3 separate regions of the Homo sapiens genome follow, and all the other regions are linked to region 3. Evidence: promoter capture Hi-C in 16 types of primary human blood cells and fetal thymus (Javierre and others, 2016). All regions are on one chromosome and are shown on one strand. Each heading gives the region's core, a stretch centred on a gene start or on the middle of the fragment in contact. The rest is flanking DNA. Distances are from core to core; before and after follow the strand shown.

What was found. The method cuts DNA at HindIII sites, captures the fragments that hold promoters and counts their contacts. A CHiCAGO score of 5 or more calls a contact.
Region 1: a contact is called between a fragment that was not itself captured here and the fragment with the promoter of REP15 in region 3, in 1 of 17 cell types (endothelial precursors). The highest score is 5.8, in endothelial precursors.
Region 2: a fragment that was not itself captured here is called in contact with the fragment with the promoter of REP15 in region 3 in 1 of 17 cell types (endothelial precursors); the score reaches 5.8 in endothelial precursors.

What each region holds. Positions count from the first base shown.
Region 1 is chr12:27,395,975-27,400,096 of GRCh38, reverse strand. The region is part of intron 9 of BMAL2 (basic helix-loop-helix ARNT like 2); the gene reads right to left. All of the region lies in intron 1 of BMAL2-AS1 (BMAL2 antisense RNA 1), which reads left to right. Among named protein-coding and RNA genes, the nearest start is that of BMAL2-AS1, 49 kb to the left of the region's middle. The HindIII fragment of the contact is 2,210 bases long and covers 180-2,389 here.
Region 2 is chr12:27,377,480-27,381,396 of GRCh38, reverse strand. It overlaps BMAL2 (basic helix-loop-helix ARNT like 2), which reads right to left. Exons shown (of 17, transcript NM_020183.6): 5 at 993-1,150. Among named protein-coding and RNA genes, the nearest start is that of BMAL2, 47 kb to the right of the region's middle. The HindIII fragment of the contact is 1,485 bases long and covers 791-2,275 here.
Region 3 is chr12:27,694,183-27,698,173 of GRCh38, reverse strand. It overlaps REP15 (RAB15 effector protein), which reads right to left and starts at 1,727. Exons shown (of 1, transcript NM_001029874.3): 1 at 578-1,727. The coding sequence starts at 1,611. The coding sequence ends at 901. PPFIBP1 (PPFIB scaffold protein 1) reads right to left here. Exons shown (of 30, transcript NM_003622.4): 30 at 2,610-3,991. All of the region lies in intron 3 of MRPS35-DT (MRPS35 divergent transcript), which reads left to right. The HindIII fragment of the contact is 1,154 bases long and covers 1,299-2,452 here.

The DNA of each region.
Region 1 (4,122 bases), core at 35-2,534, 300 kb after region 3:
GCATACATTCTTAAATTTCTTATGTTAGTGCTTATAATGGTTAACAGATACATAAGGTTATAATAGATTATAGAAACATTTTAAAGAACACTTGGAGAAATTTATAGTGAAAAGTACAAAAATAAAATAAATTTCACTTTTTAGGAAAATCCCAAGCAATTAACTCATAGGAAGAAGCTTGTCAAGCATGTCCACCAAAATAATAAAAAATTGGAAATAATCTATATCCTCAAATATCATGCTTAAGCAAAAAATAAATCCAATACGGGCATAAACAATGAGTAGGCTACAGATTATGGCATGCCACAAAAGTGATTTAAAGGTTAAAAAGTAGGGGGAAAGCCTGATAAAAATTATTTGAAACAGCTGTTTTTATGATAAGATTTAGAAAAGATTAGAACAATCATTGTTTCAAATTGGCACTATTTGGTAAAAGTTCCATTACAATAAATCCTTTAAATTTTTGTTTAAATAGAACATGATATGAACTGTCATATAAGATAGTAGTTAACAATAATAGCAAAGATTTAGAGAATACTTTATGTGTCACAGTCTGTTTAAAGTGCTTTAAACGTATAACTCATTTAATCTTAACAGCTCTATGGGATGTTCTAGTATCTCCATTGTCCTAGGAAACTGAGTTAATGGCAAGGTCACACCAGGTACAGGATGGAGCTGGGGTTAAAACTCAGGCTGGCTCCAGAGCCCACTTTCTAAATCACTAATGCCACACCATTTGCTGATAGTGAGTGCTCTGTCACCAAAGATGTTCAAATAGGAGTTGCCTGGGTGACAGAAGGGGAGGGGCACAAAGGTGTTCCAGCCAGAGGGAATGACCAGTGAGAACTGAGAGAGAGCGGTCAGATGCGGCTGAAGCATATGCTGCAGTGGGAAAGGCTGGAAAATAAAGCAGGGAACAGAGGGCAGGTTGTAAGCCATGCATAAAACCTTGTATCCAACATTTCACAAACACCACTCCCTTCCCAGGCCACAGATGCCCTAAATTACAAAACTCCTTACCTCTTCCAACCCAAACCCAGTCTTTATCACTTATTCCCTACCCTGTTTACTGGTGCCACGATCAACCCAGGCAGTTCAAAGAGAAATCTGGGGGTCATCCTAGGCTCTACCTCCCCCTAACAACCCAGATGCCTCAAAGGAATTAAAATTGAGTAAGTACGAATAAAAGTTTTCATTTAACAAAGCTAGATGGCAGTTAAAAATAAAAGGGCTTATACATCAGGTTCAGCATTTTTGCAAACTTATGAATGATACTGACTAAAAATATTCCACTCTACTGAAAATATAGACTTAAGAAAGTCTGTATTTTTAATTTATATATGTAATCTCATCACATAGAACCTAGCCTGTTGCATTTACTTCTCTCTTACAACAGGTTACTATCTATATTTCCAAATCGAACTGTCCCTCACTTCTCACTGTGAACATTTATTCAGTTGGCAAATTTCTAGCTGGGATTGTGTAATTCTATCAACTGCAATTCATTTGATCAGCTATCTAAGTTTTTTTTTTAAAAATCCCATTTAATCCATTTCCTATTTAGAAAAGAAAAAAATACAGCTCGCTACCAGTGCAGTATTCTCAGGGCAAATGGGAAGTGGGTTAAAAATTCTTATCTCAATAATTCTTTAGCTTTTTATCTAAATATTGGAGTCATGAGGACTGATCCTTGCCAAACTATTTACTTACATCGGCTCCACAGGCTAGATTCAAGTGTCATCTACTCCATGAGTTCCCAAATGTGTGTGGGGGTGAGGAGAGGGAGAAAAAGCCTGTATTACCCTAAACACTGCCTTAATTTACAGGACATCCTTTCAAAATCCTTTATGAAATTTTTCCTCAACATGTTGCAGGCTAGGTCTCTCAACTTGGTGTCTTGCTGTCTTCACTTGAAATCTTGAGGAAGCAGATCCAAAACAAGGATTCAAATATAAGAAGTTTATTTGAGGGGTGGTCCCAGGAAACACTGGCAGGGAACTGGGAAATGAGACACGGAAGAGAAGGAAGCTAATAAAGTACCTGAAACCTGCAAGTTCCTGGAGCCACAGGCAGAACTGGCTCCAGAGACCAGAGGAGATCAGGCGGAGAGTCCCGGCTTTGGACACTGGAGGCCAGTGGCATGCCCTGTCCGCAGTAGTGGGTGCTGGGGGGATATGCCATGGGGCACTGACAGATAGCATCTGCCACACATGCACAAGAAACAAGTGGATTCTGGGTGTACTGTTGCACTTCTTCCTCATGCACAATTATCTTATGAAGATAAATTTAAGAAACACTTAAGACATTTGGTAGCAGTCACCCATCCTTCATCAGCCTGCGATTTCACAACTTCAGATACCTGAGTAATTGTCTCTCTACCTTAGAAGCTTTTTCAAAGTCTGAATCCGTGACCCATGAAGGTTTGATTCAGGATATAAATAATTTTTTAAAATGTCAATGTTATTTTTAAAAAATCTTTTATTATGTAAAATCTCAAACATAATGCAAAATCAGAAATAAACTTGGGTAACTCATCTTGAGAAATCCTGAGAAATGGCCTTTCCATAAATCTTAAATTCAACTTCCAATTAAAATAAAAAGGGCTGCTCTCTAGTCTTCCTCTAAGTTTAAATGTAACTGACATGTCATGGTAAAAGGGAAGAAAAACACCTTTACTAACCACAGGCTTTCATCATTAATAATGAGCAGTCTAAAACACAGTGAATTGGCTGGGCGTGGTGGCTCACGCCTATAATCCCAGCACTTTGGGAGGCCAAGGTTGGCGGATCACAAGGTCAGGAGATCAAGACCATCCTGGCTAAAATGGTGAAACCCCATCTCTACTAAAAATACAAAAAATTAGCCAGGTTTGGTGGCATGTGCCTGTAGTCCCAGTTACTTGGGAGGCTGAAGCAGGAGAACGGCTTGAACCCAGGAGGCAGAGGTTGCAGTGAGCCGAGATCATGCCACTGCACTCCAGCCTGGACCACAGAGCAAGACTCCATCTCAATAAATAAATAAACAAACAAACAAACAAACAAACAAACAAAACCACAGTGAATTCCACTGGTTAATTACTATTTGAAAGAGTAATTTCAAAACGACCATATGAAAAATGTAATTTCACTTGACAGACACTCTCCCTGGTTAAAGCAGAAGACAAAATGACCCTCAAGCAGGTCATCCAGGTGGCAAATCAGGGTTTATATTCTGCAGTAACCTTATCCTGGCCCAGCTGTCTACAGGCAGTTCTCAAACCAGGTCCTGCAAGGAAGGGCCACACTGAATGCTGACACATTCCCTTACCATTGCTTAGGCCTGTGCATTTGGTACAGACCTCTAGTGTGTTAAGTGAATATGTGGTTCCAGGGCTTGAGCAGATTCAAAACTCCTTTTTGAAAAGATATTTGCCTCTGAGTGCAAGCATCTGTGTGGCCCAGCTTGGCGTGGGAGTGAACATCCTGGTGTGGGCAGGAACACATTCCTACAGCAGGCGCCCACTCCCTCGCTGTGTGTCTGCTGCAAAAATCATCCAGAATCTCTTTCACGAAAACCTTCCGGCATCTAGGAAGCAACTCTAGTAGGTGGCATGGCATACAGATTTTAAAGCCAGATTGCTGATTCTGTCACTCTATATGTGACTTTAGAAAAATTACACAACCTTCTAAAAGTGCAGTTTCCTCATCTGTGCTCTGCACAGAACTGTTAGGGAGATTAAACTGGATAATTATGCAACATGCTTGGCATATAGTAGAATCTTAATAATTATTCACTCACTCCTTTCTCTGTTTTCTCTTCTCTTCTTTCTGAGCTGCAAATAGCTACCATTTATTGAGTGCTTCCTAGAAGCCAAGCACTGCATGAGCCACGGGTGATCCTAACCACACTCTCAGGAGATGCTGTCATTACCCACTGTATTAGTCTGCTCAGGTTGTCGTAACAAAATTCCAGACTGGATGGTTTCAAAAACAGAAATGTTGTATAGGGGTCTACCTTATAACCTTATTTACCCTTAATTACATCTTTAAAGGCTCTAACTACGAATACAGTCACACTGGGGCCTAGCGCTTCAACATACAAACTTTGGGGGAAAACAATTCACCCTGTACCACCCATTTTCCA
Region 2 (3,917 bases), core at 284-2,783, 320 kb after region 3:
AGCCACCATGCTTCCTGCACAGCCTGTGGAACCGGGAGCCAATTAAACTTCTTTTCATTATAAATTACCCAGTCTCAGGTATTCCTTCATAGCAATGCAAGAATGGACTAATACACAGGTACACATATACATTTATTACACTTTGATTTAAAATTCAAGCTCAAGTTGGGGAATTGCTAAAGCCAGAAATGATCACCCACACACCAAGAGGCAGTGGCAAGGACCTCCTTCCCCCAGTGTCTCACATATTTGAGGATACTCTGAATGGCAACATGTGATGCATTATAAGGTACTACTCGTAAATCTGAATGAAGCTTTAAGAGAAACTGCAGAGTTTAAGGAAGTTTTCTTTTTGAAGGATAGAAATCTCTCAATAACTTAATAATTAATACTATACTTCAGAACTTTTTTTTTTTTCTGAGACAGGCTGTCACCCAGGCTGGAGTGCAGTGGCATGATTACTGCTCACTGCAACCTCCACCTCCCAGGCTCAAGCGATCCTCCCACCTCAGCCTCCCAGGTAGCTGGGACTACAAGCACGCAAGACCACACTTGGCTAATTTTTGCATTTTTTTGCCCAGGCTTGTTTCGAAATCTGGACTCAAGCCATCCGCCCACCTCAGCCTCCCAAAGTACGGGGATTACAAGCATGAGCCACCACGCCCAGCTCAACTTCAGAACTTCTAAAGAATTGAGAGGTATGAAAGGCAGGTGATATTCTCTTCATAATATATGTGAAGAAGAAATGTAAATACCTTTCAAGGTTGTATAGTGAGCTTGAGAAAAAGCTTTTATCAGAACCAAGTTTTCTGACATCCAATTCAGTATTCTCTCCACATACAGACTATAGACAAATGCCAGTGAATACCTCTAAAGCTGAAAGACACATCTGGATAGAACCTCAACAGCTGACAGCAAAGCGAACCAATCAGAGACCTCAGTGACAGAGCAGATTTCACTTATCGAAGTGTGGAAGCCATCGTCAAACTCACCTTTTAAAGATCTCAAGTGTTGAACAGCCATTCTTAAAACTGTAAGTTTGTCCAGTTTACGCGCCATGGGGTTGCACTGAGGGATCATTGCAGACAGTTCTTCAATCAGGTTATTCATTTTATCTCTCCTCCGCTTTTCAGTTTGGCTATGAGCTTCTCTAAGAGGGAAAAGGAACTTCCTTTATATTTAACATTCAGCAGACCCCCAGTCACCCCCGTGTTGCTCACTGGAGCAGATGCTGAGCCCAGCAGGCACACACTGTTCTTCCTCCCCACTTGGGCCCTGCAGTTGTCAGTGAGGGAAGAGGAAAGCGCTGCTGAGACCAGGAACAGCATTCATAAAACTCGCTGCCCTTGGTCAGTCCCTCCCTACCTCATTTTCTGAAATATTTAAAAACAAAGACATCTGTCTGAGAGCCCAGGTGGTTTTTCCACCTGTTTCCAATATTAGAGAAGAGATGGGTGCCCTTCTGTTCAAAGCTAACTATTCTCTGGTATTTGCATAAATAGTTGTCAGCATCTTAACCTCATTATTTTTATAGCTCCTTATCATGGGTCTATAAATGTGCTCAAGTATCTTCCCCCTGAAAAAAAAAACCCTTTCACTAATTCTAGTTGTTTTTTGTTCTTGCTACCGTCTTCCCCCCTCAGCAAACTCCCTGAAAGAGTGCAATTTCCACTCAATCTTTCATTTCCCAGGCATCTGTCCATCTGTAACATTAACCTTCCACAACCCCTGCCCCACTAAAACTGTCCCAGCGAAGATCCTCCTTCTCTCTTGCGATCTCTTGCTGATCCCTGCCTTGAATCTGACACTGCTGACACTTCTCATTCTCCCCTGGTCTCCACAGCCTCTCTGCCTCCTGGTCCTCCTCCACTCTCCCTGCTCGGTTCAGTCCCCTCGTCTCCTCACCCAGCTCTTACTTGATCCTTAAATACTGGTGTGCACTAAGATTCCCTGCTTAGCACCGCTCTCTCCTCACTCTTTATTCACCCTGAGATCTCATTCCCTCACAAGGCTTTACAGCTACTCATAAGCTATTTGTTATTATAACCCTATCTCATTCATACTTCACTCAGTTCCTGACCTTTGGAACTAGAATTATAAACCTAAATGATTCTCAAGAAATCTAAAATTCAAGAAACCCCAAACTGCATGCATTCTCTGCGATGTACCCCCATTTTCAATTCTTCCTGTACTACTCCTGATTTATAGGGTTTATCTTCCTTCTATAGGGTTTATCTTGGTAGGTAACACAACTAGACTCAATCTAGACTAAGCTTGTCCAAACTGTGCTCCAGGATGGCTTTGAATGCAGCCCAACACAAATTCATAAACTTTCCAAAAACATTATGAGATTTTTTTTTTTTAGCTCACTAGCTATCATTAGTGTTAGTGTATTTTATGTGTGGCCCAAGACAATTTTTCTTCTTCCAACGTGACCCAGGGAAACCAAACGATTGGATACCCCTGGTTTAGACCCTTCCTCTTCACCCTAAAAAGCCAAAGAATCACAAACTCCTGTCAATTCTAGATCTTAAAATATTTCTTAAATATGTCTTCTCTTCCTCTCCATCCCCTCTGTCATCATCTTAATTTAGGCTCATTGCATTACCCCAAAACCTTTTAAACTGCTGTTCCTTCCTCTCCTAGTCTATTCTATGACTTCCAAAATTATGTAGTAAAACAAATCCAGTCACCTAATCCCCTTGCATAAAACTATTCACTGCATTTCCACTGCCCAAGAGGACTAGCCAGATTCCCTAATTATAGGCCAGGGTTCTCCCTGATCTGCCTCATGTCTTCATCTCCAGTTTCTCTCTTCAAGACTTTCCCCGACAGCTCCAAATGTTCCACAGCAGCAACGCCTGAAGACTTGCTCATCCTCACACATGCCATACCGTCTCACATCTCCTCCATGCCTTGCTCTTTACCAGGCTTACAAAGTCCTTTCTGACTATACTGTTGGAGAAATCCTATTCTTTCTTCAAAATCCAACTCAGTTATTCTTCTGGGAAGCTTTCTCTGACTACTACATGATTAATCACTGCTCTCTCTAAGCTACCTCAGTACCTTTCATACCACTACCCTTATTTCATCAAATCTAAGAGCCACCAATTGTAAGACGCACTATTATTTAAAGCATCACAAGAGAAAGAAATGCTGCCAATTGACAGGAAGATGCCACTGATGATAAGAAATTTCCACAGAAGATAAAACGTAGAGGAGAAAAGTGTATCTTAGATTTCAAGAATTACATGATTTTACCTGTCACACTTTGCTGTAAATCCCTCTCCTACAACACACAGCAACTCCAGAATTTCTCTATTAGAATAGTTTAGGGGCAATCTGATGAGAAAGAGGGTAAGTGGGAGACTTCCCTGATCTGTTTTTATAAAGACTTTAAATTGGATAAAAGAAAGTGTAATTTTTCCAGATAAGAGTAGGGAGGTGGGTAGGGAGGAACACCGATGAAGGCTGTGGGAGCTACCACACCCCCTGCCCCAACCATTCACCCTCGGCAATGACACTCCTGGAACAAAATACACACTGTTGGGCGAAGTGGATAGGATTCAGATTAAATTGTATTCACATAAAATTCAGTTATCTACTCATACTTTGTTCTATTTGTGAGCAATTAGATTTTTTTCTTTATCTTTTTAAAGACAAGGTCTCACTCTGTTGCCCAGGTTGCAGTGCAGTTGTATGATCATAGCTCACTGCAGCCTCAAACTTCTGGGCTCAAATGATTATTCTGCCTCTGCCTTCCAAGGAGCTGGGATTACAGAGCAATTTGATTAAAATTAAAATGTTATGATTAAAAGAATATTGTAGTTACACTCTCACTAGAAGGATCATCTCTTCTAACAGTATTCCCCATCAGCATGGACAGCAGCGATGGATAGAGACTCCTGACTCCAGGA
Region 3 (3,991 bases), core at 478-2,977:
GTACTGTTATAATTCCACACTGGCTTTTAAGTAAAAATGGTTATTATATGTGAATACACCTTCCTTACTGCAAAGGCTAAACAAGTATTATTAAAAGGAATAGTTTTATAGGTCACTGTTTTTAAATCATAGGCAGAGCTAACACTAAAGTGAATCTCAAAGTAAATCCCATCAAAGTCCTCTCAGTGCAGAGACAGCAGCTAGGGAGAAGACAGAATAAGGTAAGTGTTAGAGGAAAAGAACGCTGTGAGTTTTGTGCAGGAGTCCTGAACCCAAACTATTTTTTTTTTTTTAAAGATGAGGATTCACTCTGTTGCCCAGGCTAGAGCACAGTGGTGCAATCACAGCTCACTGTAGCCTTAAACTCCTGGGCTCAAGCGATCCTCCCACCTCAGCCTACTGAGTAGCTGAGACCATAGGCATAAGCCACTGTGCCTGGCTTGAAACTGGCATTACAAATGTAATTAAACCTGCTCTGTAGCCTTACCCACTACTTTATCCTACCCATCTCCCACCAACAGATGCAAAAACACATTTTATACTTTTGAGTGCTAGACTTATTATTTCAAACAGACACTTTTTTTTTGCAAATCAAACTTTAAATGTGACTTTATTATCTCTCTTCCATTTTTATTATTGAATAAGTGAATGAAATATTAAACTAAATTATAACTTTTCCTGAACTGTTTTTAAATCATAGGCAGAGCCAGGGTTTTCTTTTTTTCTCTCTCTCTCTGTAATTGCGACATGAATGTACTTTGATCCCAGTAATCATTTTCAATCAATGGGAAAACAAATGAAAAAAAATCCCATGCTGGAATGATGCAAATAGGTGAGCTTGCTTATTAGAATCTTTTTTTCTTTTCCTCTTACAGGCCACTCACATAATACATATCCAAGTCAGAGAATGCTGATATAAACCTTGCCCACCTCTCTCAGCCCGTCTTTCTTACTCAGACAATTTCTGAGCAGCTCTTTGATGAACACACAATCTTCAGTTTCCAGGACAAACTGAGCCACAGCCTTCCCTCCTGGCAGATGGCTCCTCACCATCTGACTTTTGACACTGTCCAGGACAACTCCCCTGATGTCTTTAGGCTTTCCTGGCATACCAAAGATGATAAACAGACCCAGGCAATCCTCTCCTATTAAGTTACAGAATTCTTCCAGCTTATCAAATCTACTTTTCTTCCAGGAAGACTCCTCTACCCTTGATTCTGGATTGGAAAGGTCACAAGGCTTAGATTCCACAGGAGGAGGTGAAGACATCTGCAGAGTCTGTACTGCGAGCTGAAGCTTTATTTGCTTGTTGGATCCCCAAAAGGTCCAAATCCAGTCTGCACCAAACAGGAAGGCTTGGTGCTTGGTCATCTTGGTGGTGGTCAGCCACTCATCAACTCCCTTTTCTTGGCAGAAAGTGATGAAATGGATTAAGAAGATCTCATTCAGAGTATTTGCAGCTGGGCAGAGTTTACTTGGAGGATATTCAAATCCAAGGTACTCCTTCAGTTTCTGAGCTGCATGGACTATAGCTTCACTGACCACCTCACAGACGACGGGCACCTCTTTGCTGTCCTTCAGAGCCAACTGTTGCGATGCTTTCTGCCCCATTTTCTCTGCATCCAAATATCAAACATGTGAATCTGGTTCAGACGTACTTCTTTTTCAAAGTAAAAGTTCTGCAGGGAGGCCACATCTGTTAATGGTTCATGTTTTTCTAACTCTACAGCTTCCTCGGGTGTAGTTAAGCATATATACATACAGCTAAATAAACATGTTAGTTCTCTCTGTTTGTCAGTTGGGTGTGTTGTGTTCATACAGTTCCTGCTGGTTTATTAAGTTAAAGATACTAAATTTCACACAAAACATCTGTTCTATCTAGGTTATATTCACTCTACTTTTAATCTTTGGTAATCTCTTCCAACATGTTTCCTCTTTCCAAGTTTTAGTTGAAGTAAAAATAGCACGTTAGTTCTTTTTGTTTTTGTTTTTTGAGACAGGGTCTCACTCTGCTACCCAGGCTGGAGTGCAGTGGCGCAATCATGGCTCACTGCAGCTTCAACCTCCCTGGGCTCAGGTGATCTCACCTCAGCCTCTTGAGTAGCTGGGGCTACAAGTGTATACCACCACACCTGGCTAATTTTTGTGTATTTTTTGTAGAGGTGGGGTTTCACCATGTTGTCCTGGCTGGTCTCAATCTCCTAGGCTCAAGCAATCCTCCCGCCTCGGCCTCCCAAAGTGCTGGGATTATAGGCATGAGCCACTGCACCCAGCCCTATGTTAGTTTTTTAAATATCCATACACCTCTTTCTACAACTAACTTCTTCCAATCTCTAGGTGAGTCATTTCCATTTGCTTTTCCTATTTTCTTTTTTTGTTTGTTTTTGTTTCTTTTACCTTCTGCCATGATTCTTCATTCCCCAGCTCAGTTGCTTCTTTTCCTACAAAAGCTTCTCAAACAAAGGCCTCAAATTCCTATCTGTTGATACACATTATAAACTCCATTCGAACAAATTTATGGCAGTTTATAAAGAGATTGTGTTATTTTCTATGTCAGAAACAAAGCCTGTTACTATGAACAACGGAAAATGAAATAAGGGCAATAAAAATGAGGCAATTATCAATTGACTTTATTTCCTTTCATATGGTAACACCAGCAGTGTATGATATTTGTAAATAAAATACGTCATAAAAAAATTTAACCTTATTACCTATTATCAGTTAGGTTATACCATCCTGAATAAAAAATATTTGGGCCGGGCATGGTGGCTCACGCCTGTAATCCCAGCACTTTGGGAGACCGAGGGGGGCGATTCACGAGGTCAGGAGATTGAGACCTTCCTGGCTAACACGGTGAAACCCCGTCTCTACTAAAAATACAAAAACAAAATTAGCCAGGCGTGGTGGCAGGTACCTGTAGTCCCAGCTGCTTGGGAAGCTGAGGTGGGAGAATGGCGTGAACCCAGGAGGCGGAGCTTGCAGTGAGCTGAGATTGTGCCACTGCACTCCAGCCTGGGCAACAGAGCAAGACTCCGTCTCAAAAAAAAAAAAAATGGCGTCTGTAACAGTTTCCTGGTATTTTCAACCAGGTTCTAAGAACAAATTGATTTTTTGAAGTGGTGACATCTAGTCACATTAAAATAAAATCCAAATAAAGTAAGTTCAATACAGTTACCACATAATGAATGGTAGAGTTTAAAGAAAATTATTATTAGCATCAAATCAATTGTTATGAATAAATAGTAATTTGATATTACAAGTTCTTTAATGAATACCTTGGTAACTTGCTGACAACTTAAAAGATAATACCACTGATATTCAAATACAGTTTATAATCAAGTCCAGTGGCAGATACTGAACCGCCCACCTCCACCTCAATTTGTGAAAACCTGTCTTTTGTAGGGTTGGCTACCATGGGTAATTACGCAGCACTGAATAAAAAATAGAATATTTTTCTAATACTTCTACAAATATAATAAACACAGTAACAGTTTTTGCTGCAGCGATTTTCTTTACAAAGAATATTTGGGCCCAGTGCTACAGAAAAACATGAACTACATCTTATCGTCACAAAATAGCCATTATAAAATGAATTTTGCAGCCTCTGTTTTTTTGAACTTTGAAATAAAATGTTCAGACAAATATTCAACTTTTTAAAAACCTCCATTCATTGATAGCCTGAGAAATGTACAATGAACATGTTTAGGCAGACTGCTAGTATTTTGCTGTAATGACACAGTTAACAAAGAGAAAAGAAACAATACTGTAAAGGTTTCTGCTTTGCTTTTGGCTTCCTCAAAAACTATTTCTACAAATTTTGGGGAGAGGAGGTGATTCTGAATGTATTCAAGTTAGTGGTAGGCCAGGCAGAGTGGCTCACACCTGTAATTCCAGCACTTTGAAAGGCTGAGGTGGGAGGATCACTTGAGGACAGGAGTTTGAGACCAGGCTGGACAACATGGTGAGACCCTGTTTCTACAAAAAAACTTTT